Regions from separate parts of the Homo sapiens genome. Here all the other regions are linked to region 2. The links are contacts of gene promoters, found by promoter capture Hi-C in blood cells and fetal thymus (Javierre and others, 2016). All regions are on one chromosome and are shown on one strand. The core of a region is centred on a gene start or on the middle of the fragment in contact, and the rest is flanking DNA. Distances in the headings are between cores, read along the strand shown. Region 1 overlaps TAF7L (TATA-box binding protein associated factor 7 like). Region 2 holds the start of XKRX (XK related X-linked). Region 3 has its middle 23 kb from the start of TAF7L. Region 4 overlaps DRP2 (dystrophin related protein 2). Region 5 overlaps DRP2 (dystrophin related protein 2). Region 6 overlaps BTK (Bruton tyrosine kinase). Region 7 has its middle 8.6 kb from the start of DRP2.

The links. The method cuts DNA at HindIII sites, captures the fragments that hold promoters and counts their contacts. A CHiCAGO score of 5 or more calls a contact.
Region 1: a fragment that was not itself captured here is called in contact with the fragment with the promoter of XKRX in region 2 in 11 of 17 cell types (fetal thymus, naive B cells, non-activated CD4 T cells and 8 more); the score reaches 10.7 in fetal thymus.
Region 3: a fragment that was not itself captured here is called in contact with the fragment with the promoter of XKRX in region 2 in 1 of 17 cell types (total B cells); the score reaches 5.2 in total B cells.
Region 4: a contact is called between a fragment that was not itself captured here and the fragment with the promoter of XKRX in region 2, in 2 of 17 cell types (naive CD4 T cells and non-activated CD4 T cells). The highest score is 5.5, in naive CD4 T cells.
Region 5: a contact is called between a fragment that was not itself captured here and the fragment with the promoter of XKRX in region 2, in 2 of 17 cell types (total B cells and fetal thymus). The highest score is 5.2, in total B cells.
Region 6: a contact is called between a fragment that was not itself captured here and the fragment with the promoter of XKRX in region 2, in 1 of 17 cell types (total CD4 T cells). The highest score is 5.0, in total CD4 T cells.
Region 7: a fragment that was not itself captured here is called in contact with the fragment with the promoter of XKRX in region 2 in 8 of 17 cell types (non-activated CD4 T cells, activated CD4 T cells, endothelial precursors and 5 more); the score reaches 8.3 in non-activated CD4 T cells.

What each region holds. Positions count from the first base shown.
Region 1 is chrX:101,277,260-101,281,049 of GRCh38, forward strand. TAF7L (TATA-box binding protein associated factor 7 like) reads right to left here. Exons shown (of 13, transcript NM_001168474.2): 7 at 1,735-1,776; 8 at 790-862; 9 at 347-460. Among named protein-coding and RNA genes, the nearest start is that of TAF7L, 12 kb to the right of the region's middle. The HindIII fragment of the contact is 211 bases long and covers 1,831-2,041 here.
Region 2 is chrX:100,926,605-100,930,411 of GRCh38, forward strand. It overlaps XKRX (XK related X-linked), which reads right to left and starts at 2,313. Exons shown (of 3, transcript NM_212559.3): 1 at 1,366-2,313. The coding sequence starts at 1,700. RefSeq lists enhancers at 517-1,716, 2,910-2,959. The HindIII fragment of the contact is 22,335 bases long and covers 1-3,807 here.
Region 3 is chrX:101,312,859-101,316,661 of GRCh38, forward strand. No RefSeq gene overlaps it. Among named protein-coding and RNA genes, the nearest start is that of TAF7L, 23 kb to the left of the region's middle. The HindIII fragment of the contact is 275 bases long and covers 1,787-2,061 here.
Region 4 is chrX:101,236,201-101,239,769 of GRCh38, forward strand. DRP2 (dystrophin related protein 2) reads left to right here. Exons shown (of 24, transcript NM_001939.3): 5 at 1,419-1,575; 6 at 2,781-2,901. Among named protein-coding and RNA genes, the nearest start is that of DRP2, 18 kb to the left of the region's middle. The HindIII fragment of the contact is 1,048 bases long and covers 1,454-2,501 here.
Region 5 is chrX:101,259,205-101,262,778 of GRCh38, forward strand. DRP2 (dystrophin related protein 2) reads left to right here. Exons shown (of 24, transcript NM_001939.3): 23 at 845-965; 24 at 1,293-3,574. The coding sequence ends at 1,417. Among named protein-coding and RNA genes, the nearest start is that of TAF7L, 30 kb to the right of the region's middle. The HindIII fragment of the contact is 2,689 bases long and covers 720-3,408 here.
Region 6 is chrX:101,373,273-101,376,941 of GRCh38, forward strand. It overlaps BTK (Bruton tyrosine kinase), which reads right to left. Exons shown (of 19, transcript NM_000061.3): 2 at 1,872-2,042; 3 at 1,264-1,362. The coding sequence starts at 2,012. Among named protein-coding and RNA genes, the nearest start is that of BTK, 11 kb to the right of the region's middle. The HindIII fragment of the contact is 5,931 bases long and covers 1-3,669 here.
Region 7 is chrX:101,209,155-101,213,170 of GRCh38, forward strand. No RefSeq gene overlaps it. Among named protein-coding and RNA genes, the nearest start is that of DRP2, 8.6 kb to the right of the region's middle. The HindIII fragment of the contact is 3,048 bases long and covers 160-3,207 here.

The DNA of each region.
Region 1 (3,790 bases), core at 686-3,185, 350 kb after region 2:
ACCAGCCTGGCCAACATGGTGAAACCCCGACGCTAGTAAAAAATTAGCTGGGCATGGTGGTGAACACCTGTAATCCCAGCTACCTGGGAGGCCGAGGCAGGAGAATCACTTGAACTCATGAGGCAGAGGTTGTAGTGAGCCGAGATCACGCCACTGCACTCCAGCCTGGGCGACAGAGCAAGACTCCATCTCAAAAAAAAAAAAAAAAAAAGAGGGAAGGACGAAACCATCCTTTTTTTCTGGGTTTTTTTTTTTTTGGATTGGCCTATGAATTTATGGAAAATGATCTGATACCCAGTCAATACCTGCCCTATCTGAAACTCCTGCTTTGCCTTTACTAAAGTACCTGACGAGGTATGACCCTGCTTGTGGCTGCTCATTCCCGAGGATATCAAAAATCCTGGGATGGAGCCTTGACTTTCTATTTCCTTGGTTCCATCTTCAGCAATGACTTCCCAACCTGAAAGGAGTGGGTAGTCAAGGAAAACACAGAAGGAAACAAAAAGGCACAGCTGAAAGGGAAGGGGCTCTTTGGCTAACAGTGCTATTTAATTTAGTCCAACTTTAGGCCATTTGTATTGGAATTCCTAGTTTGGAGAAGTGCCTCATATTGAATTACACAATAAATAATTTTCTATTACATGAATTTACTGTTCCTAGCTAGAACATTTCAAAGAATCTTAAGTTCCACACATCAAGACTGGCACACAAACACCAGAGGTGAGGCTTCGTCAGCATGTACAAATGGGGCAGAACAGACTATGCAGAAAATATTTGTATAAAGGATACGGGTACTTACGGCTTCAGCATCCGAACGCAGCAGTCTCTTTACTTCATTTTCCACGTCTGGAGATTCAATGTACTGAAGCAAAGTTGGGGATTAGAGGGGGATACCAATACTGTCATTTAACACCCTGTGTGTTGCAGGAGTGCCCTCCTACGTACCAACGAATTCAAATGTTAGGCCTCTTTAAATTCTGATCCAACCAAATTTCTACTTTAAGTAGTGCTATTTATAAAGGAATCTTTAGCCAGGGTCTAGAATTTTGTACAGTAAACTTACTTTTTTCCTAATTAAACAAATTACTTGAGACATTTAATCTTTTCAATCTGCAGCTCTATGGTAAAGCCCTCTCTCAGAGGTGCAACCCTTAGGTCTCAGTTATAAATTATTTCTCCTGATTTATATTGGCAAAGAACTATAATTCCTTATTAGTTATTTAGAAATAATTTGGTTTAAAGATCCAAATTCCCAGATTTCACTTCCCCACATCTTTATTATTAGAGACGTTCCTATAAAAACTGGATCTTAGCTGCATGTTCTCCCTTGAATCCAGTTTTACATAATTATCTCCACAGCAACCAATTTGTTGTGCCACAAATAGAAATTAGGATTTTGATGGGGAATAAGCAATTGCAAACAACTGCTGTTAAAAGTGAGCTCTGGCTCCCAAGGAATGGCTTTTGAAATAAATATCAGAATAAAAAGAGCAGATTAGAATACACGGGGTCACTGGCCAAATTGTATCTTTTCCTCTAGCAGTTATCAAACATCAAACAATGAATTCATTTTTTAGTGAATCAAACCCAGTGTATGTGTTTAGGATGAGGGTTAGAGGTGAGAAGGAAGGCTCAAAAGTAGCTTCTGTGGTTTATTTGATTCATTTGAAACTAATGAGCTATTAAATAAAACACATTAAGGGTAAAAATGAAGTTATATTATGATTGCTCTACCTCAGTAAAGCTGCTTTTTTCCATTTCTTTGACATCAGGGACCTATGAAATAAAACACAATAAACAAGTTATATTATGATACCTATATTTCAGTAAAGCTTAAAGAGCTCTACAACTATCCTTAACTTAGTTTTACATTTAGTAGGCACTCAATAAATGTTGATTTACAGAGTATAAAAGCCAAGGCAACTGTGTTCATGGATTGGAAGACTCAATATAGTAAAAATGTCAGTTCTCCCCAAATTGATCTACAAGTTTAATGTAATTCCTGCCAAAATTCTAGCAAGGTTTTCTATAGCTATAGACAAGCTTATTCTAAAATTTATATTAAAAGATACAGGCTTTTGGCCAGGCGTGGTGGCTCATGCCTGTAATCTCAGCACTTTGGGAGGCCAAGGCGGGCGGATCACGTGAGGTCAGGAGTTCGAGACCAGCCTGGCCAACATGGTGAAACCCGTCTCTACTAAAAATACAAAAATTAGCCGGGCATGGTGGCCCATGCCTGTAATCCTGGCTACTTGGGAGGCTGAGGCATGAGAGTCGCTTGAACCCGGGAGGCAGAGACTGCAGTGAGCAGAGATCGTGCCATTGCACTCCAGCCTGGGCAACAGAGCGAGACTCCATCTCAAAAAATAAATAAATAAATAAATAAATAAAGATATGGACTCTAGAATGGCTAAACAATATTGACAAAGAAAAGTAAAGTCAGAGCAATCAGCCTTCTAATTTCAGGACCAATTATATAGCGACACTGTGATATTGGTGGAGGGATTGACAGATGGATCAGTGGAGGAGAATGGAGAACCCAGAAACAGACCCATAAAACCAAGCCCAACTGATATTTCACAAAGGTGCAAAAGCAATACAACAGAGGAAGAATAGCCTTTTCAACAAATAGTGCGAGAGCAATTAGACATCCTTTGGCAAGAAAAGCAAAAACAAACAAACAAACAAAAACAAAACAACAACAACAACAAAAAAAAAACCTTGAACTAAACCTCATAGCTTTTACAAAAATTAAGTCGAAAATGGGCATCAGGCTTAAAAAGATGTAAAAAAAAAAAAAAAGCAGGAGAAAATCTTCAGGATCTGGGCTAGGCAAAGAGTTCTTAGATTTACTATAAAAAGCAAGATCGTTTTCAAAAAAATCAATATATTGTACTTCATCAAAACTAAAAACTTTTGCTCTCTGAAAGACCCTACGAAGAGGATGGAAAGACAAGCTACAGACTGGGAGAATATATTTGCAAACTACATATCTGATAAAACACTGGTAGTATTTAAAATATAAAAAGAACTCTCAAAATTCAATAATAAAAAATCAATTTAGAAAATAGGCAAAAGGCATGAGCAGACATTTCGCTGAAGTGGAATAGATGGCACATGAGATGCTCAACCCCGTTAACCATCAGGGAAATGTAAATTAATACTACAATGGGATCACTATGCACCTATCAGAATGGCTAAAATGAAAAATAGTGACAACACCTAATGCTGGTGAGGAGGTGGAGAAACTGGATCATTCATACATTATTGGCAGGAATATAAAATGGTACAGTCACTCTGGAAAACAGGTCATTTCTTACAAAACTAAACATGTGACTACCATATGACCCAGCAATTATACTCCTGGACATTTATTCCAAAGAAATGAATACTTATATTCACACAAAAACCTGTTCACAGCTTTATTTATAATAGTCAAAACCTGTAAACAACCCAGATGTCCTTCAAAGGGAGAACAGTTATGTAATGTGGTACATTCATACCATGGAATACTACTCAGCAATAAAAAATAAACTATTGATGCTACAAAAACTTATATGGATCTTAAGTGAATTATGCTGAATGAAAAAATAAGCTAGTCTCTGATGTTATATACTATATAATTCCATTAATATTAAATTTTTGAAATGACAAAATTACAGAGATAGAGATCAGATTAGTGATTACCAAGTGTCAGAGACTGGGGTGTGAGGTGGAAGGGAAGTGGGCATGGTTATATAAAAGCAAAATGAGGGATCCTTGTGATGAAACTGTTTTGTATTTTGACTGT
Region 2 (3,807 bases), core at 1,063-3,562:
GCCTCTCTTGCAATCAAGACAAACTTGGTCCATTCCTTACTCCTGAACTCATAAGTTTTGCAACATCTCTCTACCTTGAAAACCCCATAGCATCCAGATGAGACTGTTGACACAGGTGCCTATCTCGCTAGGATTAAGTGCATTCTTTCCACTTCAAGGCAATCTGAATGGAAATACTTGATACTATTAAATTGTGCTACTGCATCCACATAGAGAGATGAACTGCCTTCCTTTGCCCCCTCCCAACTTCGTATCTTTATTGCAGAAATATACAAAGAGATAAATAGGAAACTGATAAACCGACAGAGAACTGAACTATATTGGGTTGGGGTACAGATTACCACAGATGGTTTAAAATAGTTTCCAGATGTCACATTACTCTGGAAAATTTGAAAATGGCAGTAGCACCAGCCCAAGCAGCTCAGGGTAAAGAAACTTTTATCCAATTTACAAAGCATCCAAAAGGTAGAGTCAAAATTACACACTCAGACCAGGCGCGGTGGCTCACTTTGGGAGGCTGAGGCAGGAAGATCACTTGAGCCCAGTCTACATAACGAGATCCCGTCTCTACAAAAAAAATTTTTTTTTTTTTGAGATGGAGTCTCACTCTATCGCCCAGGCTGGAGTGCAGTGGCACCGATCTTGGCTCACTGCAACCTCTACCTTCCGGGTTCAAGTGATTCTCCTGCCTCAGCCACCAGAGTAGCTGGGATTACAGATATGCGCCACCACACCCAGCTGATTTTTAGTAGAGACAGGGGTTTCACCATGTTGGCCAGCTGGTCTTGAACTCCTGACCTCAGGTGATCCACCCGCCTCAGCCTCCCAAAGTGCTGGGATTACAGGCATGAGCCACCACACCCGGCCTATAAAAATTTTTTTTTAATTAACCAGGCATGGTGACACATTCCTTTGGTCCCAGCTACTTGGAGGCTGAGGTGGGAGGTTCGCTTGATCCCAGGAGATCAAGGCTGCAGTGAGCCATGATCGCACCACTGCACTGTAGCCTGGGAGGCAGAGCAAGACCTTGTCTCAGAAAAAAAAAATTTTTTAAATAAAATTACACACTCTGCAGCTATGGCCTTCATGCACAGGGTGATCACGTCTTGTTGTTCCCATTCTAGTTTACACAGGCCAAATAGCATCGTTCATTGTTTTGGAACACAAGTACATACCACATGTTCATCATGGTGGCATTTAAGATTTCAGGTAAGTTTTCTGAATGGTAGACAGGGAAGCCGAGAGTGGGAGGAAATGAGAGAATTGATTAGAGCCATAGTATCCATCTTGTAAATCTTTCATCTTTCTCTGCCCAAGTCTGGGGTGGGGTTAGGGGGGTAAGGAAAAGATTTAAAAGTTGCTCACCTGATAACAGGTCCCAAGAGGATTAGATGCATAAATAATGATAGCGGTTTATCTTTGGCTAGATCTCTGTGGACAAAAATGAGGGTCAACTGGACCATAATGGATGAAAACATAAAGAAAGAAAAGGTGTATGTCATCCAGTAAGTTTCACTATTCTTTCGATAGATTCTAACCATGTACAAAGCAGATGCAGCCTCCCCACAGTACAAAAAGGTGGAGAAAAGGATGCTAAATGGAAAAGTAAATCGGGGGTTGGCTCCACGGATGACATCTTCCTCCAGAGATGAAACCGGATCCACATTTGGCTCCTCAGGAATTTCATAAACTCTGTCCATTGTCGAGGTTCTTTCTGAATGTTGTGGTCTTGTGTTCATAGCACCCTCCCACCCATCCCCAAGAGAACCCTATGGCCGCTACAGTCCAAGTATAGGTGAGGAGAGCTCTGTCAAGTCCAGTTTGGGAACAGAGATTCACTAGTTAGAGCAAGAAACCGCTCTCTTCTAGACTCAGATTCGACTTGGAGTCTGGGATGGAAAGCCCAGGAGTACCACTTTGAACTTGACTCTTGATTGGCCCCGATTCCAATCGTCAACATACTTGCTGTGAAACTTGAACAAGACAAAAGCAAGCATCCCAGCGCCCCATCCAGAGTCCAACTCCAGGGACGTGAAGAGTCATGAGAACAGCGGCTTCCGTGGCGGCTCCTTTCGCAGCCCCTCAGGCAGGGTGTAGCCGATCTGTCGGGGGCACCGACACTCAGCAGCTCCTCACAAAGAGTCCTGACCAGTGTGTCCTCTCAAGTCAGCGGAGAGCTGAGCCAGGGCAGAAGAGCGGGCGCAGAAGAAGGAGGGCAGAAGAGGGGATTCAGTTCAGTGCCTAGGTATCCTAGCTATTGCTAGGCTGTAGCTATCAGCTGGCCCGCTCACCTGCGCGCTCTCAGGACCTTTGCCGAGTCCAGGGTTCTCAGGATAGCTCCTCGGATTCCCCCAAGCCCCGCCCCCAAGACCGCCTGGCCCGGGAGTGGAGTATTGTCACCACCCTGTCTCCGAATGCAGTGTTGAGGGACAGAAGCAGAGCGCGCTCGCTCTACAGGATGAAGAAAAGGCTGGAGGGGCTGCTTCTCCTCGGAGAAACTTTGCTAGTGAGAGGCACGATGTGCGGGGCGCCAACCTGGCTGGACGGAGGTCGCCAAACTCTTGGACGCCGTCTGCTGCCAGGGTCCTGCCTGGTCTGCGATTCCAGCTGCGAGAGGTCGGCAGCTTCAAAAACTAAGGCACCGGGACGGCGGGGGCGGGCGAGATGGGCGGGACGGCTGCGGCCAAACAAAACCAGCCGGAGAGTTCCCGGGCAGGCGGCCAGCCGAGGGATGCTCGTTGTGGAGTGGCGGGACAAAAAGGGGCTTGGGCCGCTCTTCAGAAGCACTTCTGACCACCACCTCCAGACCCAGGCAGGAGCCACAGCTTTACTCCTCCCTAGGAGCAGCAGGCCCCCACTTCTACCCCGCCCTCCCTAACTAGTTAAGTGACTTGCTTCAACACTCACTCTACCCACGCTGTTAGGCAGGTGTGTCTCCCTCCGCCGCAGGGTGGAACCTCCCTAGGTCCTATTGCCCTCCAGATAATATCATGAAGGGGGAACCTGGGAGGAATAGGGTCAGAGTTTTCGGCGGAGGGAAGATAGAACAGGATAAAGGTCAAGACTCAAGGTCAGCCCACAGACACTGAAAGCTCATATTTTATGCCTTGATTTCTCCACTTGCAAAATGAGGCCAGGATAGGAGCTTTAGAATGAACTTACAGGTCTTTGGTTGAAAGGTTATGAAGAGGTGCCAAATTCTAAACAGACTGGCAAAGAGCCAAGAGAGAGCTGTTAGTAAAAACTGAGAGGGGTGTCTTAAAGAGCTTTGAAAATTACCTGTATTCTTAAGTGTAATCCTCCCCACCTCACTGAGCTTTTGTTTTCATATCTTCATTTGCATAATTCTAAACCTCAGAGAAAAAGAGAACACATCTGCCTCCTGGTAATAATATAGATGAAGGCCAGGCACAGTGGTTCACGCCTGTAATCCCAGCACTTTGGGAGGCTGAGGCAGGCAGATCACTTGAGGTCAGGAGTTCGAAACCAGCCTGGCCAACGTGGTGAAACCCCATCTCTACTAAAAATACAAAAATCAGCTGGTCGTGGTGGTGCGTGACTGTAATCCCAGCTACTCAGGAGGCTGAGGCAGGAGAAAAACTTGAACCCGGACGGCAGAGGTTGCAGTGAGCTGAGATCACGCCACTGCACTCCAGCCTGGGCAACAGAGCAAGATTACGTCTTAATAATAATAATAATAATAATAATAATAATAATAATAATGATGATTATGTAGCAGAGCCTGTGCCAATCTCCTTTTGCTGCAGGAAGTCAGTAAAACAAATCTATGTGAGGAGTGGCCAAGTA
Region 3 (3,803 bases), core at 674-3,173, 390 kb after region 2:
TGAGGCAGAGTCTCATTCTGTCACCCAGGTTGGAGTGCAGTTATGTCATTGCAGCTCACTGCAGCCTTTACCTCCTGGGCCCCAGCGATCCGCCCACCTCAGTCTCCAGAGTAGCTGGGACTAGAGGTGCATGCCACCACAGCTGGCTAGTTTTAAAATTTTTGTAGGGATGGGGGTCTTGCTATGTTGCCTAGGCTGGTCTTGAACCCCTGATTTCAAGGGATCCTCCCACTTCAGTCCCCCAAAGTGCTGGGATTATAGTAATAGTAGTAATCTATCAATTCTAGAGCCACCACCATGCCCAGCCCGGGATACACTCTTGTTTTTTTATTATAGAAAAGCGGAGTTTGTAGTGAGTCAAGATTGCGCCACTGCACTCCAGCCTGGGAGACAGAGCGACACTCTGTCTCAAAAAAAAAAAAAAAGAAAGAAAGAAAGAAAGAAAAGTAAGTAAATATGATGTGTCTAGGCTTATGTGACTCTGTCTGTGTATGGGAAAAAATGAAATTTTATTGAATATATTCTGGAAAAGGAGAAACTCTGAATGCTTGTTGACTTATTCTAAACCTGACCGTGATCCATGAAAAAAAAAAGTTTTTAAAATATTGTTCTGCTGGCTTCTCAACACAAACTTATTTTTAAATTAGCATTGGGTTAAATGTAATTCCAATAGGTTGTAAAGTGAAGAACACTTGCTGAATATGAATCTAGCCCACCAGAATCATTTCTTCAGGTATCCATCACCACTGTGAACTAAAGAAAGGGATAAAAAGTAGTAATCTATCAATTCTAGAACACTGTAATATAATAAAGTAAAACTACAACTATTTATATTTTTCTTCAGGGGAAAAGATAATTTAAAAATTTAACTGTTCTTCATAAGCTGTAGTAAGGAGCTTGAATTCTTTCTTATTACATTCATAAATCTTCTTTTATTCCACTTATAAAACAAGATATTTACATGTCTTTTTATAAAATTTAAATGCATGTTGACTATAAAACGTTTAAAAAAATACAGAGGCCAGGTGCGGTGGCTCACGCCTGTAATCCCAACACTTTGAGAGGCCGAGGAGGGCAGATCACGAGGTCAGGAGTTCGAGACCAGCCTGGCCAACATGGTGAAACCCGTCTCTACTAAAAATACAAAAATTAGCCAGCCATGGTGGTGCATACCTGTAATCCCAGCTACTCAGGAAGCTGAGGCAGGAGAATCGCTTGAGTCCGGGAGGCAGAGGTTGCAGTGAGCCAAGATCACGCCATTGCACTCCAGCCTGGGCAACAGAGCAAGACTCCATCTCAAAAAAAAAAATACAGAAAAGTGCAAGGAAGAAAATGTGCTAGTGGGAAAAAAAGAAAGCAAGAGGAAGAGAATAAAAGCTAAATAATCAACCTTTTAAAAATTTAGACATTGTTGGCTGGGCACAGTGGCTCACACCTGTAATCCCAGCACTTTGGGAGACCAAGACGGGTGGATCATTTGAGGTCAGGAGTTCAAAACCAGCCTGGCCAACATGGTGAAATCCCGTCTCTACTAAAAATACAAAATTAGCCGGGTGTGGTGGTGCATGTCTGTAATCCCAGCTACTCGGGAGGCTGAGGCAGGAGAATTGCTTGAACCCAGGAGGCGGAGGTTGCAGTGAGTCGAGATTGAGCCATTGCACTCCAGCATGGGCAACAAGAGTGAAACTCCGTCTCAAAAAAAAAAAAAAAAATTTAGACATTGTTGTACCTGGTTTAATGGAGCTACTGCTTATGGTTTTAATAAGGCCCATCTCCTGTAAGGTAAAGCTTCTGCCAATGAAATTGCTGGATCTGAGAGTTATGACTAGACCATTGTAGAAGCCAGAGTGGTCAGACATTGTCTTCTTCCAGCAATGACTCCCTGTTGGAGTAAAATACTGAAATGGACAATTTTCCCTAATAAAGATACCTGAATTTAAGTAACATTAGCAAAAATGACAGAGTAGGGAACTCCAAAAGTCTATCCCTTCACAAAAGCGGAAAATAAACCAGCAAACAGTGTCAAAATCAACTTTATCAGAGCTCTGGAAACTAATCAAAAGCTTATGACAACTATACTTGTTCATGATGTCATGGAAAATGGCAAAACAGGGAACCCCAGGGCTCCATCTCTCCAAAATCAAACAACAAGCTGGCAAAGACTGTCAATTTTTGCAGAACTCTGGAATTTAGTCGAAAACTTACAACAAGCAGGGGAAAGCTTAATGAAGAAAGAAGCAGCTACATTGCAGTAAAAGAATGCTCTGGTGTTTTTAATCACCTGCTTGCCAACTCCCTGCTTTAGATCAGCAGCAGCCATGAAGGTAGCATCCCACACTCCTGGTATAACTTTATAGTGCTGGAGGGAGCAATGCAGACCTTATTTCCAAATGTGATTTTATGCTTCAACCTGACTAGTGGTTCTCTCAAGAACTGGTGCAAGGACCTGCCTCATTTCACCCAACTTGGAGCATTCTCAGAAGCAGGTAGCTTTTGCTGAAAGTATTTGAAGGCACAATATTGTCTGGAGCAGCCTGGGGAAAGAGATAACAGTCAGAACAAATAATAGACTGAAGGAAGGAAGAAGATCGGAAAGGAAATATGTGGGGAAATAAGGGATTTTAACAGCTCCTGTGTATACCAGAGAGTTGAAAAAGGCCACATGCACGCCAGGCGCTCATGCTCAGAAACATGCTCAGAAAAGGGCCGAGAAGAACCTAAGTTTTCACCTCTGGCTGACGTCAGGATCCATGTAAGCAGGAACTGAACGCCAAGGGAGAGCTGTAAACGAACTGGCTAAGCATTGAGTCCCCCAGTACAAAACTAGTCTGAAAACGGAGTAATTTTTTCTTCCTCTTTTTTCTCTTTTTGCTTTCTTTTTTTCATTTTCATTATTTTGTGTATGTGCGTACATAGTAGATGTATATGTTTATGGGGTACGTGAGATAGTTTTGATGAGGCATGTAGTGCATAATAATCCCATCAGGGTAAATAGAGTACCCATCACCTCAAGCATTTATCCTTTGTGTTACAAACAATCCAATTATACTCTTTCAGTTATTTTTAAATGTACAATTAAATTATTGTTGACTATAGTCACCCTGTTATGCTATCAAATACTAGGTCTTATTCATTCTTTCTATTTTTTGTACTCAGTAACCATCCCCATTTCCCCTCCACTCCCCTACCACCCCGTTCCCAGCCTCTGGTGGCCATCCTTCTACTCTGTATCTCCATGAGTTCAATTGTTTTAATTTTTAGCTCCCGCAAATAAGTGAAAACATGTGCAGTTTGTCTTTCTGTGCCTGGCTTATTTCACTTAACATAATCACCTCCAGGTACATCTTTGTTGTTGTAAATGACAAGATCTCACTCTTTTTATGGCTGGATAGTAGTCCATTGTGTATATGTACCAAATTTTATTTATCTATTCATCTGCTGATTAACATTTAGGTTGCTTCCAAATCTTGGCTATTGTGAAATAATGCTGCAGTAAACATGGGAATGCAGATATATGTTCAATATACTGATTTTCTTTCTTTAGAAGTGGGATTGCTGGATCGTATAGTAGCTCTATTTTTAGTTTTTTGAGGAAATCTCCCAACTGTTGTCCATAGTGGTTGTACTAATTTACATTCCCACCGACAGTGTACAAGGGTTCCCTTTTCGCCACATCCTCACCAGCATTTGTTATTGCCTGTCTTTTGTATAAAAGCCAGTTTAACTGGGGTAAGATGGTATCTCATTATGGTTCTTTAGGGAGTTTTCTTTTCTTTCTTTCTTTCTTTCTTTCTTTCTTTCTT
Region 4 (3,569 bases), core at 728-3,227, 310 kb after region 2:
TGAGCCTCAGTTTTAAGTAGTTGTGTCACCCTGAATACTTTGTTTGAGTTCTCGAAATGTTAGCTTCCATTTGTTTTTTATAAGGACAAAAAATGAGTGGAGGAATAATACCTGTTCTAACTACCTCACAGTGTGGTCATAGGAATTCAAATCAGATGTGGAAATGCTTTCTAAACTTAAAAATGCCGAGGTATAAATGAAGGGGATGATTGCTCCCTTCTCCTCTTCCTCTCATAGCTGTCCTATATCTTGGTAGGTCTCATCTGTTCACTTCCCCATCCTTTTACGTTCTATCCATAAGTTTTCAGCCCACCTATTTCTCCCCAAACTAAGGGTAGCTCTGTAAGAGCCTGAAGTCAATTTTTTTCTCAGTTGATCGGCTTTCCCTAGCTGTCTGTGCATGCCTGCCACTTTTTTTCTCCACCCTCTATCATCAAAGTCCAAGCTTCTGGCTTCTGATGGGCTTTGTTAGGGGTGAGGCATTGTGGATAAGTTGAAAGAATGCAGGCTTTGGAGTCAGGTAAACCTGAGTTCAAATCATCGCTCTATCAATGACTTAACTGTGTGACCTTTGGGAACCTACTTACCCTTTCTGGGCAATAGGAATGCCTACTTAATAAGGTTTTTGTAAGAATTAGTTGAAGCAATAATTTAGGTAAAGATCTTGGCCTAGGTGGTGGTGAGGGGGGGGCAATGAATAAAGATAGTTATTATTGTCAGCCAAGGGGAATGGCTTGATGGCTGCACATATCCTTGGCCAGCCTCCAGCTTCCTACCATGGTTCATTTGGAGGGCAGCGGGGTAGGAGGGCAGACAGAGATAATTATACAGTACAGATTTTTCTGTTTCCATATCTCAGACCTCTAGCCAATGTTCCTTTGGGTCCCAAGGACTGTTATATTCGTATGCATCCTTGCACATGTGCATGCCTATACTCAACCACCCAACTTGCCCTTTCCACTTACTGAATCCTCTCCTGCTCAGAGGGCAGTTCGGAACAGCCTCTATGGTTGAGCAGTTTGGCATGACTTGAATTCTACCAGGGCAAGAGGGGAACCAGACAGCTGTCACCTCTAATGCCCTTGTTCAGTTTCCTACCCTTCCCAGCCTGATGTTTGGCATGCAACTGAAGTAACTGAGATCCACAAAGTGACATTTTAAGCCATTGAAGTTTGGGATGCCTCCACACCCATGGTTCTACCTACTGGTTTTAGTACTGTGCTCTATGTGGAGGTGCCTTGGGACCCTCTTTGGGTGGGTAAGAGGGAGGACTCCAGGCCTCCTCCCACTTGAACCAGAAAAGCTCCTCCTGAATTTGTTTTCTATATTAAAGTTCCATATAACTTAGTTTGGAAAAAAAAATGTTTTGCCACTTAAAAAGAAGACTGAACATCACTGGTTTTACTCATTGTGTGCAGCGCTCGCCTAGAGGCCTTCTCAGACCACAGTGGAAAGCTTCAGCTCCCTCTTCAAGAGATTATTGACTGGCTCAGCCAAAAGGATGAGGAGTTGTCAGCTCAGCTGCCCCTACAGGGGGATGTGGCCCTGGTGCAACAGGAGAAGGAGACACATGCGGTAGGTTAGAATCAGAGAAGCCGTGGTGTGTAGCCTCTCAGCTGGGGAGGAATCCCTTCTTCAGTACCCTGACAGACACCCAGCTCTGCTGAGACACCTAAATGAATAGGAGGCTGTATGCAGTCCTATTAGTCTGTGGCTAGCATGCCACAGCCTAAGTCAAATATTTTCTTTCTACCCCTCCCATCAAATTCTAGCCTCCCTTAAAATACTGCCATGATTTTTAATGGGAACATGGGGAAATGAACATAACATAATGCTAAGTGAAAAAACACAGGATACAAAACTAAGTGCAAGTGGATCTCAATTGTATAAAAATGTATATAGATGAGTGTGATGTTTACATACATATAACAGCATAGGAAGGAACTATATCAAAATGTTAACAATGGTTAACTCTAGGTAATAAAATTGGAGTTCTTAATTTTCTTCATATCTTTCTGAAATTTCTAATATTTCTGTGATATATATTACTGCTGTAGTTAAAATACTTCTTAAAATGACTACAGAATGAAATATAATACAGCAATAAAATAAACTATAACCACGTGCCACAGCATGGGTGAATCTTACAGACAGACAATATGTTGAGTGAAAAAAAGCCGGATACAAAAAGAGTATATACTGTATGATTCCACTTATACAAAGTTTAAAAATAGGCAAAACTAATCAGTGATTTTACAAGTAAAAATTGTGGTCACCTTTGTGGGAGGGGAGGGAGGGGTGGGGCATGAAGGTGAGATAGTGACTAGGAGGGCCCACCTGGGATGCTGATAGAGTTCTGTTTCTTGATCTCAGTACTGGTTACATCAAGATGTACAGTTTTAGTTTGTGTATCCCGTATATATTTCAACCAAAAATTTAATTATAATTTTAATATAAATCCTGCCTATCTTGGTTTTGATTTCCATAAGACCCTTACAGGAAGCTTTCTGAGTCTTCTGGAGAACCAAGATCCCCACATTTTTCTCTATCCTGTGGCATAGACAGACAAATTTCATACTAAACAGACCTTCCAGTGTCAGAGTTATTTTTCTGTCTATCAGGAGGATTGCACGCCTTTTTGTCTAGGTAGTTCAAAGATACCTGATAATGCCAAAGAATCAAGACACACTGAGAAGAAGAAAGGTTGTCAATTGCAGGATGGAATGTAAAGTGATTGAAAAACTTTCCTTTCCTGTTGACCATATTGCTAAACTTTATAGGCCTTTATGGAAGAAGTCAAGTCTCGGGGCCCCTACATCTATTCTGTGCTGGAGTCAGCTCAGGCCTTCCTGTCCCAGCACCCATTTGAGGAGTTAGAGGAGCCTCATTCTGAGAGCAAAGGTAGGTGGTCTTCTGTTTTTCCCACTTCTTCTTGAGCCATGTACTGCTGAATGCTGAACAAACACCCTCCTGCCTTCCCCAAACTCATTTTCTTACCTGTTATCTAGGAGGATAGTTTCCCCCAGGAGTCCATCCAAAGTTGGGGGGAAGCAAGATTCCTACTGCAGGAAAAAAAGCAAAGAGAATATAGCCTGGAGCAGGGGTCAACAGTTGTGTGACCCAAAGCTGTATGTGGCTCTTTGGAGCAGCATGTGTGGCCATTTAATGAGATGTGGAAAAGAAAAACAAAAAACCACTCAAATGAATTGAACTGACTCAATGAATAAAAGTACCAGTATGTCCTTTAAAAACATAGTGCTGGCTGGGCACAGTGGCTCATGTCTGTAATTCCAGCACTTTGGGAGGCTGAGGCAAGAAGATCACTTGTGCCCAGAAATTCAAGACTAGCCTGGGCAACATAGTGAGACCCCCATCTCTACAATTTTTTTTTGTGGGGGACGGAGTCTCGCTCTGTCGCCCAGGCTGAAGTGCAGTGGTGTGATCTTGGCCCACTGCAAGCTCCGCCTCCTGGGTTCATGCCATTCTCCTGCCTCAGCCTCCCGAGTAGCTGGGACTATAGGCACCTGCCACCACGCCTGGCTAATTTTTTGTATTTTTAATAGAGACGG
Region 5 (3,574 bases), core at 814-3,313, 330 kb after region 2:
GCATTTATGGAATTTAGCATGATGCCAGGAATTTAGTACACACTTCATAAATGTTACCTATTATTGTCATTATATGTAATGGAAAATACCACTCTTCTGCCTCTTCCCCAGATCCTCCAAGGAATGGCCTCTATGGATTCCTGGAGGTTTCTAACATATGCTATGTCATGAACCAAGGATCAGGTGTGAAACTCTACATTTCCAGAGAGAATTGTGTTCTAAATAGCTTAATTATAGCTGAAATGACAGCAAGAGACCTTTAGGTACAATGCCATTCTTTATTTAATTAATTAATTAATTAATTAATTTTCAAGACAGAGTTTGGCTCTTGTTGCCCAGGCTGGAGTGTAATGGCTCGATCTCAGCTCACTGCAACCTCCGCCTCCCAGGTTCAAGCGATTCTCCTGCCTCAGCCTCCCAAGTAGCTGGGATTATAGGCATGGGCCACCATGCCCGGCTAATTTTGTATTTTTAGTGGAGACGGGGTTTCTCCATGTTGGTTAGGCTGGTCTTGAACTCCTGACCTCAGGTGATCCGCCTGCGTCAGCCTCCCAAAGTGCTGGGATTACAGGCGTGAGCCACCGCGCCCAGCCTACAATGCCATTCTTATAAGAACTGGGAGCCTTTGACACATGTTGTTAAAGGAAGAAGGTAATGGGTAATTCAATATTCTAAGAAGTTTCCTAAAAGTGGAAGCCACTGTTTTAGGTAATACCAAAAGCTTCTTAAAGTCTAAGGGTAAAGGGATGGTATGAAGTCTCTCAGGTCCCTTCTAAGCTCAGGAGTCTGTCAGAGTAAGGTCAGGAAGGCAAATCCACTTAAGTCATGCCTTACCTCTTGCTAGCCACCCACCGAATCAGATGGCAGTGGCTCTGCAGGCTCGTCCCTAGCTTCCTCTCCACAGCAGTCAGAAGGCAGTCACCCCCGGGAGAAGGGACAGACTACTCCAGATACCGAGGCTGCAGGTGAGTTCCCCTGGCCTTTCCCAGCCCCTTTCTCCATGGCTTTGTCCTGCCCTCGATTTCCTGCCCAAGGCTTTGCGGGGCTGGGACTGGTTTCTCCTCTTGGCTTTGTGCTTAGGGTCAGGGATGATTGGTTTACTGATTGATTAATTCATATGCTTATTCCACAAATAAATATACATTGAGCACAACCTATGTATTAGGCATTGTGCTGGGAAGATGCAAATGCTGCGGGCAGGTCTGCCCTTCAGCTGGCAGAATTCTATCTGACCCCTTGGCCTCATAAAGGAGTCTCTAGTTCTCTTCTCAAATCTCTGTTTTTTAACCCAGATGATGTGGGGTCAAAGAGCCAGGATGTCAGCCTGTGCTTGGAGGACATCATGGAGAAACTCCGTCATGCCTTCCCCAGTGTGCGAAGTTCTGATGTGACTGCCAACACCCTGCTGGCCTCTTGATGGAGCCAGATCCCCATCCTATAGTTCATAGTCCTCTCCTGGTTCCGGTCAAAGCCTTTCCTCAGCCTTCACCCAACCTTTCCAGTTTCCACTGGCCCCACATTCCTCAACTAGTATTATTTGGGCTCTGGGCAGCAGCAGGGATCTGGTGGTATGTGAGGTGCATGCGGGCAGTGATGGGAGAAGGGGAGGCATGATTCTTCTGACCCTAGAAATGTTCCCTTTAATCTTCAAGTTCGAGATCAGCCCTTTAAGTACCTTTCTGTTGCAGCCCAGGCAAATATCACTTGGCCATTCAGATGGGGAGCAGAGAAGCTGCCTTGCAGAGCTAAGCGGTACATGTTGGCCCCTCTTCCTTCTCCGTGGAATTATGGAAAGAGAGAAGCCTAATTACCCCAAGGTTCCATCCAGCATTATGAATCCACAGGGTTTACCCCTACTCTCTGGCGCAACTCAGGGAGGCAAAAGGGTATCCCCGAGACACCTTCCCCACCCCAAGTGCCCCTGAAAAAGTCTGGGCAGTGTGTGTTCTATTACTTCAGCTCCAGGACAGATTGCTAGCCATCCTAATGCTACCTAGGTATTGGTTTCTCCTCAAATATCTTCATTTTCTTTAGCCTCAGTCCCTGACAGACCTTCCTTAAGGGGAGAACAGTTCATTCTGGTTCTTCTACGTTATATTTGGAAGCATTAAATCCATACTTATGGGTTTAGATTTTTTTTTTGCCCCACATCTTCCTATTTCTTAAAGTCCTCAGCATTTTGAGAGACCCACTGAGTTGCGAGTTGCTCTGGAAACCTGGCTGAAGCCACCCTTTGCTCCTCTGAGTCTGTCCTCACAGACCTGAGGACACAGTGGCAGCTTGCTGAGCAAGGGAGTGTTGCTTTCCTTGGGTAAGGAAGAGGAAGCCCACCTCAAGTCTGGAGTAGTATGACTGCCATCCAACACCCTTCCAGGCTGTGACCCTTCTAGCTCTCAGGCTGAATCAGGTGAGGTGGCTGATTGTCCCCAGCTAATCATAAGGCATTTGCAACTGGCTACCGTGTGTAGTGGCCCCTCCATAGGAGCCACAGGCCACAAATCAGGAAGCTGGCCACTTTCCACCCAGACAACAACAGCAAGGCCTTCCTGTGCCTAAAATTGTTATTTCTAACTCTGGAAGGTGAATCCAATCCTCAAACTGAACTAGCTCTTCCTAGGCGACATATACCATGATCTCTTTATCCAGAAACTGTTCAGAATAGATAGTAGGGGTGGGGGAGTGGGCTTGGGAATGTTGAATAGATTCAGAGCCCACTTAGGCAGCTTTCTCCCAAGAGGAGCTTTATAACCTAGAGCCCTGCAGTTGACTTCATTTGCCTAAGTTTATATACATACATATCTATTCTACATATCTACTGTACATCAGTGCTCTCCTGGCCTCACTCACACATTAAATTCTAATACCTCTTGAAGTATTAATGTTCTGCCTTGCTCTTTGTTAGCCCCAGCCTCTGGTTGGAAAGATAGATGTATCCTGGCTGTTCCCCTAGGATATCTCTCTCCATTGATGTTTGGGGTGGGCTGTCCTCAAGACCAAAGCAACAGAAACCTGTGGTCACAGAGAATCTAACAGGAAGAGTCACTGTTCTCTTCACTCATTCCAAATCTTGTTCCCTTGAGACCTGGGCCTTGGGTGAATTTTCCTGGGCTCCCCTAAATGGTTCAGGTGCCAAAATAGAGCAAACCCAAGCTCTGCCCACCCCATGCAGAAAAGGACAAACAGGCCTTTATTAGCCTTTGCCAGCTAAGACACAGAGAACATTCTCTGGTCCCTTCCAGCTCTTATGGTCTCACTCAGGGCTAAAGAAAGCAACAGTTGCCACCACAATCAGGAGGGAGTGACGGTTGGGGTGTTGTATTATAATCCAGCAGTGGGCCAGTGGGTAGAACTGCTAGGAACCTAGTTTGATCTGCTGCAGGGGAGGCAGGGCAGTGGCTTGGGTCCAGAAGCTTAGGGTTGCCTCCTCCACCACTAAGTCACAGGTCCAGGGTGTCAGACTTCACAGCATAACATCTGCCTTAGTGTTCATGAGGTCTCTGGGCAGGAGAACTGGGTATCTGGATAGATGGTTGAGCAGGTGGTAGGCGGGCATCAATCATAGAACCTGGGCATC
Region 6 (3,669 bases), core at 563-3,062, 450 kb after region 2:
GAAATTATCATAAGGAAAAGAATAAAAAAAGTACAGAAAGATGTATGCAAGATTGTTCCTCTCAACATGGTTTATACTATCAAGTACTTGTAGACAAACCGAATGTGTAATAATGGGAGATTAAACAAATTACAATACATCCATAATAGGGAATACCATACAGTCATTAAAATCATGTTATTAAAGAATATCTATTGTCATGGGGAAAAGTTTCCCACATATCGTTACATTGAAAAAGTACGTTACAAAGCAAGATGTGTACTATGAGTCTATGTTTTAAATATATGACATATATATAAGTGTATGCGTATGTGTTCTCAGTGAAGAAAAACATCTGTAAGTCTATGTACACCAATATGTTGATAGTTGTTTTAACTGGGTAACAGGATTATGCATCATTTTAATCTTTTTGTATTTTTTATATATTCCAGAGTTTCTGTAATAAATACGCAATTCTCCTGTGATCAAGAAAATACTGAAAATGGTCAGACCCAGTGGGTGGCTCACGCCTGTAATCTTTGCACTTTGGGAGGCCGAGACAGGCGGATCACTTGAGGCCAGGAGTTCAAGACCAGCCTGGCCAACATGGTGAAACCCCGTCTCTACTAAAAAAATACGAAAAATTAGCCAGGCATGGTGGTGCACACCTGTAATCCCAGCTACTTGGGAGGCTGAGGCATGAGAATTGCTTGAACCCGGGAGGTGAAGGTTGCAGTGAGCCAAGATGGCACCAGTGCATTCCAGCCTGGGCAACAGAGCGAGACTCTGTCTAAAAAAAGAAAAAAAAAAGAAAAAAAGAAAATACTGAAATTGATATATATTTTTTAAAAGTGAACTCAAAAATCAGTAGGTTTTATGTCTCTCGCTCCGGAAAGTGAGAAGAGAATAAATAGTAAGGTATTAAAGGATATCATGTGACTCAGAGCCCTAGGATTATGACATTCAGACTTACTTAAGCCTCTAAATCTGATCCTGAGAGAACTGAGGGAATAAAATCAATGATCTCTGACCAGTTTGAAAACTAGATATAGCATCATTTAAAAGTTTGTGTTAACAAATTTTCCATGTTTAGTGAGATGTTCTGAATATGAAGGAAAGAAGCTAAGATTCTTTATAACCAATATGGTAGAGTGAAGAATTTTTAAAGGAAACTTGACCGTGTTCCACGTTGCACAGCATCACCAGTCTATTTACAGAGAATTTAAATGTTGCAAATTTCTTCAAATCTGCTGTTCCCCATCTCAGACATTGGTCTCTTCTTACCGGAATCTGTCTTTCTGGAGGAGGATTTTTTTCAGGAACCACTGTTTCAACACAAGTGATCTTCTCAACATCTATTGAACCCTTCTTACTGCCTCTTCTCTGAGAAGTAGAATGAGGAAGAAAATGGAGAAAGATTAAGAGGGATTAAGCAACCAGATGATTAGATTTTGTTATCTAATCATTCAACAAAGTGAGGTGGCACCAGGACCTGTCATGTGGGGGAAGAAAAAAAAATCCTTCCAGATCTATAAATCTATGACTACCAAATGGAGGGCAAATACCATGGAAGAGTGAATGACTGTATGTACCTTCCTCATAGGAAGTAAGGAAGCAATTTCCAACTCTTCGATTTCATTTTCAACAATCATTTAATGAGTGCTCATCAATTCCAAGATTCCATGGTAATATTTTCCTTGTGGCTTCTTAGGACCTTTGACTTTCCGGCTTTAGCTAGTTATAGGCTAGGAAATATTTTGCTGAATTTGAAAGAACTTAGGTCCATTCTACTCCCCTCCTCCTACCAACGAAAATTTACCTCTTCCCCAAGAAAGATCTAAGGCCAAGTCCTTGATATCTTGAAACTCAGTTTTCATAGTCGAGAAACTTACCCCACGTTCAAAGTCATACTCATAGTAGGAGAGTTTGTGCACGGTCAAGAGAAACAGGCGCTTCTTGAAGTTTAGAGGTGATGTTTTCTTTTTCTGTTGGGATCGCTTCAGAAAGATGCTCTCCAGAATCACTGCGGCCATAGCTTCTTCTTTCTGGAGTTCACCTGTGTGCTGTTGATAATGAAAGTTCCTGAGGACCCAGGACATTAATCCTCATCCCTCTTGGTTCCCCCTCAGCCTAGCTACCTAGTTTCAAATGGAACAAAAATGTGCACAGCTCACAAAATAATTTCTTCCTACCAACCTCCTCCCACAGCCCCCAGCTCTGTCAGGTTTCAGGTATAATGGATGCACACTGAATTGGGGGGGGATTGGTTCGATGTTGTGAGCTCATATAAACTGAGTTCTTGTATAAGGCAATGGAATGCTCTAGATGTTAAATGGCACGCACCTGTGTGCTTGGTAAGGTGTAGAGGTAGCTTTACACTATTCACCTTTATATGATATGTGTAGAATCTGTGAAAAGCAAAAGTATCTGTGCAGCTGTTGATCTTGATATACCCAGAAGGGATAATGCAGGTGCCAGAACTCCACTGAGGCAGATATTGGACTTTCAGTTCCCAATTTCCTAGACGGTGAATATAATTTTTCAAACATTGTCCCACTGGGGTCTGTAACCAAGGGAACTAATAAGGATATGGAGGCTGCACCTGCAGTTCTGGACACACACTAACTGCTGCCCAACTGATTTTGCCCACACCCACTGACTGAGCTACAAAGGATAGAAGATTTGTTCTAAAGTTGAAAACATAATTTTTTTTGGTGGGTTTTGGTGGGGGGGGGGTAGTTGTTGTTTTCTGACCTTTTCCCCATTTAGCTTAAATTAGTTCTTTTAGACAGCATCATGCAAAAGTGATGCAACTGTCTTACTGATATAGATGCCACCTCTGTTCATTTATGAAACACAACTTATTTAGCCTCCCCAAACCTACAATACTCCAGAAGGATTCAATTTAGGTAACTGAAACACAGAAAGACAAATAAAGTTCCCAAAGTCACCACTGGCTTTTTTATTCACACCAAGCAACACTTCATATCAGTTATTCACTTACAGTTTATGCACAGTGTAATATTATTACTAATTCCGAACTTTCATTGGAAAGATAAAGTGAAAACAAATGCTGTCATAAAAATAGAACACTAGGCCGGCGCGGTGGCTCACATCTGTAATCCCAGCACTTTGGGAGGCCGAGGCTGGCGGATCACCTGAGGTCAACAGTTCAAGACCAACCTGGCCAACATGGCAAAACCCCGTCTCTACTAAAAATACAAAAATAGCCGGGCGTAGTGGTGGATGCCTGTAATCCCAGCTACTCGGGAGGCTGAGGCAGGAGAATCGCTTGAACCCAGGAGGCGGAGGTTGCAGTGAGCCGAGATTGTGCCATTATACTCCAGTCGGGGCAACAAGAGCGAAACTCCGTCTCAAAAAACAAAATCAAAAACAACAACAAAAAAACACTAAGTAAGTAACGAAAAAACCACCAGCCCTCCATTCAAGTTTAATTAGTGGTAGGGATTTTTCCTCTGGTGGGGGGGTGGGGGTGGGAATGTGTCTATTTTTTAAGTAAACTCCTTATGCTTTTGGTGGCACCGTGGAAGCAGAATGAATAAAGCCAGCAGTTTTTTTCTACTTTTTAAGCAGATTATTGCTCACACTAGGAAAGCAAGGGAGTGAATTTTATCAAAGCCTGGGGGCTATCCACACTGTTATTTTGCTCTTTCCTGTGGTGTAGGAGGT
Region 7 (4,016 bases), core at 434-2,933, 280 kb after region 2:
TCAGTTTGTGAATTGAGTTCAAGAGGCCCTAAATCTAAGTGCTGTATGTAAAATAAAAGCAATTAGTGCAGCTGTTACATTGTATTCTCCAATCTGGAATTAAGTTATGGGCAGAAACTACAGAATATTTTTCCCACTTCAATTTAATCACAGTTTGGAAGCTTATTTGTTGCTTCTTTTGTATCCCTTACAATGTTTGGCACTGCTGTGCACAGAATAGACACTAAATAAACATGAAAGCCAGGAATGAGGTTAAAGATCCCTGCTTGATAGTCATTAGTATAGTCAAAACAGAGTCTCACTGTCACTTCCCACCCTCCCTACATTGCTTTTGAGCCTTGCCCCAGCAGGAGACCCCCAAGACCCTCAAGGTAGTCCTAAATTAATCCTCTCAATAGGCTCATCAGTAGGCTTTTCTCTCTGACATCATTTCCTTTTTTTTTTTTTTTTTTGAGACAAAGTCTTGTTCTGTCACCCAGGCTGGGGTGCAGTGGCATGATCTCGGCTCACTGCAACCTCCACCCCCACCTCCCAGGTTCAAGTGATTCTCCTGCCTCAGCCTCCCAAGTAGCTGGGATCACAGGCGCGTGCCACCACGCCCGGCTAATTTTTTGTACTTTTAGTAGAGACGGGGTCTCACCATGTTGGCCAGGCTGGTCTTGAACTTCTGACCTCAGGTGATCCACCTGCCTCGGCCTCCCAAAGTGCTGAGATTACAGGCGTGAGCCACCGTGCCTGGCCACTATTTCCTTTTCTTGGGTCAGTTGAAGTACCCCAACTCACAGAGCTAATTCCAGAAATAGGGTTGCTGGGAGAAATTGGGGGTAATTTGTTAGGTTCTGGGCTTTGCACCTAAGAATCACTGCCTTAATTCTGTGCTTTATAGTGTGATGGAAAACATTGGTGCTAAGGACTGGGCTTGTTAGCAGGAATCTTTTCCTCTAGAATGGAATGCATTGATATGCAATAGTGTCCTCTTTGGCATTTATATTCTTCTGAAACTTCAGTAATGCAACAAGTCATTCTCTGGCATCCAAGTGTAATTTCTACTTTACCTCCTTGAATCACAACACTTTCTCTACTGCTCTTCTTAGCACATGCTTCTTCCCCAGAACGCTTTCAGCAATGGGCCCATGAAACTGGTGGAAGGTCCCTAAAATTTTACTCCATTATCTATTATGTATTGTTCATTGATCCCTGACAGGTTTGCTCTGATTCAGCATGAATAACAATACTAGCTAACATTTATTGAATACTTACCATGTACCAGGCAATGTGCTAGGCACTTCACATATGCATCTCATTTAATCCTCATACCTACCCTCTGGCAATTTTAGTCTTTTCATTTTACAAAGAGGGAAACTAAAATCAATAAGCAGATAGTAGCATCAGGATTTGAGCCCAGGCAATCAGCCTTCAGATCCCATGCTGGTAACTACTATGCTAGTACCACTCTTAAGTATTAAAATGAGTATGTACTCAATAAATATTTGAATAAATAAATGATTAGAGGGCTCTAATTTCCAAAGGGCTTCCCCAAGGCCTCCCTTAGGCAGGGTCACGTGTTTTTGGCCCATTGCTCTGAGGAAAGTTTAGACAGATGGTTGAGGGCAATTAGGTTGTGCTTGCATTTTCAAGCACAATTGAGTCCCACTTCAGGAAAGTAGAGAGCAGTTCAAAAGTGAAATTGCCTTCTCTGGTCTGTTGAATATGAGTTAGCTGTGCTCTGGCAGCCTGCTTACTCTTAGCTACTCTTAGGAGAAAGGCTTGGGACCTGGGGAGTAGGCATCCCAAACCCACAACCTTAATAGCTAAAGTTTTCTTGTGGGTAGAGTGAGGGTAAGATAGGGAGGACACACAGAACTTCAGTCTGGTAATATTTCCTTTTTAACTATTGGGTCACTTAATCTCTATGTACCTCATTGTCTCCATTTATGAAGTGGGAGCAATCTCCCTGGCTTGCTTTCTATTTCTGAAGCAAAATACTGAATCAAACTGCTTCTAAGACTAGAAAGGCTCTCCGAAGGTTTAGCTGATTGTAACCATTATCTCCAGAAGCTGGGGTGTTCTGATACAAAGAAGTGTAATGGGAATGATTCAGGTAAAATAGTAGATTGGAGAGGGTACAATGTGGAACTGCTGGAGTAGGATTTGCTTATTATTGGTAAGATGGTTGCAATGAGAGATTATTATTTATAACACACCATAGAATTACAAAGCACTTTACAGCTATTCTTCAGTACAGTCCTACAAATTGATATAAGACTAAAAATAATGAGGCCAGGCCTGAAAGGTTACTCAGTGGGTAGTAAGTATGAATAGTCACTGAAATGAGAAAATGACAAATATACCTCTCAGGTCCAGCACAGTATATCTCCAAGAGCCCTATTCCCTGCTCTTATAGCTGTTTCCAAGAAGACTCTGGCTTAATGTGGTAGCTGCATAGGGGTAAGGATCTAGGCTGCTTTGGTGATGTTTGGGGCTGCTTAGCACTGTACTTTGGAAGAATTGCATGCCTTAACACCCCTCTGCACTTCCACTGCCTTATTATAGCACTTTTCTCATTCCACTTTGTTTAATAGTTGTTTGAGTAGGTGTCTGCCTCCCCTATTAGACAGAGATTGTGAGTTAGTCATTTTTGAATCTTGCTTTGGTGTTGGAAATGTTTTACACTGAGCAGGCCCTCCCTTATGTGCTTTCCAGCCCCAGGAACCTAATTAATTTGACTGATCCCCGTCCTTGATGGCCTAATAATAGGTAGATTAAGCACATGCTTAGGAAACCAGCTAAATAGAGGCATTAAAGATTTTTTTTAAAGATTTGAGTCCACACAATGAGATACTACTTTATAACTTCTAGGATGGCTATACTAAAAAAGACAAGTATTGGCAAGAATATGCAGAGATGGGAACCCTTGTACATTGCTCGTGGAGATGCCACTTTGATGAACGGTCTGGCAGTTCCTCAAAAAGTTAAATGCAGAGTTATCATATAACACAGCAATTCCATTCCTAGGTATGTACTTAAAAGAATTGAAAACATATATTCATACAATAAACTTGCACACAAATGTTCATAGCAATAATATTCATAATAGCCAAAGGGTGGAAACACCTAAATGTCCATCAATTGATGGATGGATAAATAAAATGTGGTATATTTATACAATGGAATATTATTCAGCCATACATAGGAATGATGTAGTGAAGCTTGATGATAATATGCTACGTGAAAGAATCCAGACACAAAAGACCACATGTTGTTTGATGTCATTTGTGTAGAATGGCCAGAATAGGAAACTCTATAGAGACAGAAGGTAGATTAGTGGCTGCCTAGGCCTGAGAAGGGACTGGGGGGATATTGGGGGCAACTGATAATGGGTATGGAGTTTTTAGTTTGAGACAGAGTTTCACTCTATCACCCAGGCTGAAGTGCAGTGGTGCAATCATAGCTCACTGCAACCTGGAACTCCTGAACCCAAATGGTCCTCCTCACGCAGCCTCCCGAGTAGCTGGGACTAAAGGCACGAGCCACCATACCTGGCTAATTTTTAAATATTTTTCAGTAGAGACACAGTCTCACTGTGTTACCCAGGCTGGTCTTGAACTCCCAGGCTCAAGCAATCCTCCTGCCTTAGCTTCCCAAGGTGCTCAGATTATATCACACCTGGCTGAATTGTGCACTTTTAAAAAGTGAACCGCATGACAATAAGAAAGAATTGCAGTTGTAATTATGAAAAAGTTCAGATTTTGTTGAATTCTCTCATGCTTATTTTATAGGTTAGTATTATTTATATCTTAAATTATTTATAGGCACTTAGGGTTTGTACCATTATCTATCTCTTTCATTCTTGGGGTTGTTTGTTTGTTTTTCCTTTTTTTTTTTTTTTTTTTTTTAGATGGAGTCTCGCTCTGTTGCCCAGGCTGGAGTGCAGTGGTGTGACCTTGGCTCACCACAACCTCCACCTCCCGGGTTCAAGTGATTCTCCTGCCTCAGCCTCTTGAATAGCTGGGACT